Linked DNA regions of Homo sapiens: region 1 is linked to region 2. Evidence: promoter capture Hi-C in human tissues and cell types (Jung and others, 2019). All regions are on one chromosome and are shown on one strand. The core of a region is centred on a gene start or on the middle of the fragment in contact, and the rest is flanking DNA. Distances in the headings are between cores, read along the strand shown.

The links. Contacts are between HindIII fragments. The study calls those that stand out against the background at their distance.
Region 1: a contact is called between a fragment that was not itself captured here and the fragment with the promoter of KCNA4 in region 2, in 4 of the 25 tissues and cell types used here (H1 embryonic stem cells, dorsolateral prefrontal cortex, liver and 1 more).

What each region holds. Positions count from the first base shown.
Region 1 is chr11:29,938,482-29,941,181 of GRCh38, reverse strand. No RefSeq gene overlaps it. Among named protein-coding and RNA genes, the nearest start is that of LINC01616, 43 kb to the left of the region's middle. The HindIII fragment of the contact is 4,260 bases long and covers 1-2,700 here.
Region 2 is chr11:30,015,731-30,018,430 of GRCh38, reverse strand. It overlaps KCNA4 (potassium voltage-gated channel subfamily A member 4), which reads left to right and starts at 1,401. Exons shown (of 2, transcript NM_002233.4): 1 at 1,401-1,859. The HindIII fragment of the contact is 10,149 bases long and covers 1-2,700 here.

The sequences.
Region 1 (2,700 bases), core at 178-2,677, 77 kb after region 2:
AGATTTAAAAAAATTTTCTATCAAGTTCAGTGTTTATTTTTTGGGGGGGAGGCATTTGTTCATACATCAAATGTTTGGTGTGCACCTAAGCACATAATAGTTCTAGTTTCTGCAAATATAATAAACTAAGTAAATGCTGTCACATTCATAGAGATTGAAAAATCATATAGTAGTAACAACCCCAATTCAAGAAAGTAACACCAGCTTAGGCTGGCAAATAAGGAACAGAGTGGAACAGAAAAATGTGGACCATACTAGAAGAAAAATGGAAACCTTGCTGAAACATTGGTCTGCTAAGCATTTTCATTAGTTCCTTAGAGAAGAGAGAGGTGAAATTTGACAGGATCACACTGTAAATCTTTTGTAGCTTGTTTTATGAGTTTTTCTTTTTCAGCTCTCTAGTAAAATGTAGGTCATTCTTATTTCACAGCGAGAACACAGTCATTCTCAACAAAACCTTTTGTGGACTTCATAAATCTCTGAATTAAATAACTTTTTCATGCATTTTTATACTTAGCTACCTGAAGTACTGGGAGTACTGACCTGACAATCTGATAGTGAAGATTCTGAGCCAAACCAGAAAGTAGTTCCTCACATACACGTGGCCTTAAGGCTCATTTTATGCTGAGTGTGTTATGTGTTGTATAGGCAGAAGCTTTGAATGTCCATGTGTTTTGGCTGGGGTCTTCTTAATCATCATCGTTGCAAAGACTGTCCCTCAATCTCCCGATCCAATTCAGCTGACCTCCCTTTGATGTTTTAAAACACCTTAGAACATACCTGTCCTAACACTGATTTCCTATTTTATGACTACCATTTGACTTCTCCCTTTTCCCAGCTAGACCGGGACTTCTCTGAAATATTAACTGTATTATTATTTCTCTATCATAAACCTGTAGCACAATATAACCACAGTTGTTACTCAATGTAGATTTTTATAAAAGAAGTAAGGAAGGAAAGAACGAAGGGGGAAAAAAACAGGTTCTGGGGCAGATATTCAGTCTGGTATTGAATCCTTCTAAACCTGCAGCTCTGACTTAGGTTGATGCTGAAAAGTCACTGTGACCCTCAGCCACCAATATCTACTTGCCAAAGCAGAAAAAGGATATCAGCAGATTTAAGAAATCTTCCTTATATTGCATTTGCTTGTTTCTTTAAAAAAAAACATTTATTGAGCAGTTATTACATTATAGATATGGGGCTCTAGATGCTGTGATACCACTGTCTGCAGCATACCTTGCAATAATGCTATAAGGTAAGTATAATTGTCCTCACTTCACCTAAAAGAGAGAGAATGAAAGCTTATAGAAGATAAAGAACTAGCCCAAGTGCACATGACTGTTAAGTATGATGGCCGAAATGTAAGTCTCCCCTTGTCCTGATTTGAGAATCCACTTAACTACCAAACCTGTGATTCTCTCTTTAGTCACATACACATTCCATTCAATCAGTGTTTCAGTGAGCTTCTAAAGGGCTGTGGAAGCTTCAAACCTACATGACTTATAGGAAGATATCATCATTATCACCTTTATGACTCTCTGTGTGGCTGCACATGGCTCTTAAATTATTTGGCTTCAGAGAAAAAACATGTGAAATAGTATCTGAGCTTTTGTGTCTGAGACTGATAGAGAGAAAGAGAAGGGGAGAGGGGACAGAGAGAAAGAGGTAGGGGAGGAAATAGACTTTATACTTCACTTTTCTCTTTGGAAATATTTACTTAAAATGAACTTAAAAACTCCTTTCCTGTCTTTTCCTTTAGCTGCATTTATAGTAGAGAAATCAATTATTGTTGTGGATAAGTGAGTCAGTGGTTAGGGGGCCAGCAGAGGTTAGATCATTGCAGTAGAAGACCTCCTGGCTCCTGAGAAGAGTCCACCCAAACTGTGTGAGTAGAGAACTCTCTGTCGCTCTCTTGTTCTCAGCAGGAATTCTCCTGTCCTCAACATTTTCCTGCTTTATGAGATCAAAAATATGGGGGTCAGATATTTCAAGACCCTGTGTTCTACACAAAGGTACTGCATTTTTCCTTTACTGCTAGATTCCTTTGTGGATAGATACATTTTCTCTTGTACTTTTAATGGAAATTCTGCAGGAAAATGTAATAGAATATATTTAGTCTGCCCTTGGTTGGTATTCAATATATATATATATATATATATATATACACACACACACACACACACATATACATATATATATACACATATACATATATATATATATAACTTTATCATTTATAAGGATGATAAAATTGACTTAACCTTTCTGTTTTTCCCAGAAGCTACTTTCTGTATATAATATGGGTAGTTTCTCCATTGGGGGGTTCGATCAACAAAGGGATATAATTCTAAGATATGAGTTTTAGAGATTCTTTTTTATCACTCTATTTTTACATTTAGCTCTTTGCAGGTAAAGCCCATGTTCAGATCTAAATCTCTCACTACAACTTACACAGGGGCTTTCCACATCCAGTGCTTACAGTTAAAATTTAATTTGGAATGAAAATGTATTAAAATTTTAAAATGATGTGGCAATTAGACGAGAAGTTATATATTTATGTGGGGGAGGGGGTGGATGGTTTGTAAAAGAGATTTTTTTTTTGTAGTATGCGAAGTTAAGTTTCTCCAGATAGAAATGGTTGGAGCTTCTGTAACCATCTTTTAAGTTTTCTAGAATTTTATGTATGTTATTTTTTATTAT
Region 2 (2,700 bases), core at 152-2,651:
AGTCCTCCCGGGAGCCAAACCTCTCGCCCGGTTGATTCTGGCAAGCCTGAGACAGGCAAACTGTCTACTTTCCTGTTTTGATGTGGTCCGAAGAAATAAACAAGAAACAAGGAGAGACCCTTCCTCAAACTGTAACTCCAGCCAATTAGCATGAAAAGCTCAAGAAGCTATTAACCAGAAGTTTCGGCTTTAGGGGACCAGGGACTTGCCCGAGGCCCTGGCATGCGCGGCGGCTAGGTTTAACTTTCAACTCATAGTGACCTTTTCCTTAATTTAATGCAAAAAATCTTTCCCAGAGGTGGAGATTTAAGATGCTAATGATACATACGTCCTATGAAGAAGCATGTTAAACCACCATGCATGCACCAGAAAAACTCCACCTCTACATGCCCTGTCTATAGTTCTCCTTATTTCCCCTTACGGGAGAGGCCCGTAAAAGAAACCCACACCCTGACTTCGAGGAACAGCCCACTTTTTTTTTTCTTGGTGTTAGCTCCCTTGTGCGCACAAGCTTTAATTAAAAGAAAGAAAGAAAGAAAACCAAAAAAACTTGCTTTTTGCTGCGATATCCCTTGATTTCTGTCCTGAAGGATCCAAAGAGCCCTCAGGGAGTCGATACCAGAGCCGTATTTGTTTTTGCAGCAACAGGTTGGCTGCGGGCTCTTCCCCCGCCTTCCAAAGCCCTCAGCCCCTGGCCCACCCTGCAACTTACTCATCTCTCCAACCCTCCTCCCCTAGAACTGCTGCCTCCTGTGCGCAGCCCCTAGCCTGGGCCTGATTCCAATTTCTGTAACATTCCCCTGCCCGGGATTGAATACAGGTTGAAAGTCGGTCTCCTCCGCGCCCCTGAGGCCCAACCCCGGCGCTGAAGCCTCCCAACTCCTGTGTGCAAAGGAGACGGAGACTGAGGGATCTGGGCGCTCTGGCAGGCACAGGAGGGCTCCCCGCCCGTGGCCTCGCCGGAGATGCACCCGGCTCCCAACCCAACAAACCCGCTTTGGGAGGGGATGGGGTGGGGAAAAGAAGACGGGGCTCGGGGCTCGAGGGGAGATATAGAGAAAGCAAGTTAGGTAGAGGAGATGTCCCAGAGGACCCCATTTTCGGGACTGCACCTCCCATTGGAGCTCCCCGCTCCCAAGCCCTCTGGGGACTCCCGCGCTGCCGTCGAAACCCCTATTCCGGCCCCAACGGGGACACTTCTCCAGGATTTGCTCCTCGCCTGTGGGGACCACAGCCAAAGACTCCTGGAATCGATCCCAGATCCTGGGAGTCGGGGGGCCCAGCCGGGGTGCGGGGAGTCGCGGCGTCGTGACTGCACCCGCCCCGCCGCGCCGGGAGGCGCCCCTGGCGACCGTCGCGAACGCCACACCCTCGGTTCGGCCCTGGCCCCGCCCCCGCCCAGAGCGCGTTCGCGGCCAGGGGAGGCGTGTGCTGCTCCCGCAGCCAGCGAGAGCGAGAGAGGGATGGATGTTGGAGGAGGAATTCGGGCTTAACAAGTGATCGCTGCTGTCTAGGATTTTGTTTCTTTTCGGGGGAACCTTGACTTCCTTTCCCAGGCAATCCCTCCTGTGCTGAACTCCAGAGGAACCAGGAGTCTTGGGGTCTTCTCTGGGGCAGCCCCAACCCCCACCCCCAGGCTCCAGCCGCGAGGACTCTGTGCACCCCTCGGGCCAGGCAACAGAACTTGTTCCGTGGATATTTGGAGCCTCCACCTGCCAAACCCGAGTGATTCCTTTTACCACCCCCCGCCCCCCACCCAGGATCATTCTTCCCCTCCTCCAGCTGTTGCAGCTTGAGGGGGAAAAACAAGCCAGCCGGTGGATTTTCTTTATTTTTATTTTTCGCCCCGCCGGGGAACGGTAAGTATGATACCTTTTTTTTTTTTTTTTTTTTTTTGTATCTTTCCTCTACCTTCTTATTTTGGCTGTTAAGAAACAGTGGACATTTGAGGGATAAATAATATCGGGAATGTGACAGAAGGGCATGAATGGAAGGCGGTTAAAAATAAACCAGGAGGTGGGAGAAGGGAGGTGCGGATGCTGCGCGGCGCTCCGGGGGGCCAACAGTTGTTATTTTCCCAAACCCGGGGATGCGGTGAGTGCGCCCTGCTTAACGTGCTGGAGCGGGAACCGAGGTCTGGAGGCGAGGGCGCGATTAAAGATGTCGTTTCCCAACGAGAGGGGGGTTAAGATTTAGCATCGTTTCGCCTCCTCCCAGCCGCACCGGTTCCCTTCTTTTGGGAACAGCCGGTGAACGGGTCTGAATTGCTGCCTCTTCCAACGTTTGGATTTGCGTGCATTTTCCGAGCATTTGAGCAACATACATAGGGGCTGCATAAATGGCGTGCGTTGAAGTGTATATTTCTCACGGTGGTGGCTTTTCTGATTCCCTCTCTCAGTTTCTCTCTCTTTCTCTCTCTCTCTCTCTCTAAGGTTCAGGTACCACCCTGACAGTGACACAGTTGCAGGAATTAGCACTGAGAGACGAACAGCCTTGTTGTTGGAGGGGTGAGAGGAGGAGGGGCGGGATGCTTGGCTGTTGTTTGGGGGCGCCGGGATTGGGGAATAGGTAGTCTGCAAAATCCTATTAGTTTAATGGTGTTAAAGAAGAAGACAAATTCCTCTGCAAAGATCTCTCTCATAAAGGCTCCTGGGAATTGGCTTGAATAGATTCTCCTAACAAGAGTACCTTGAGAAAGAA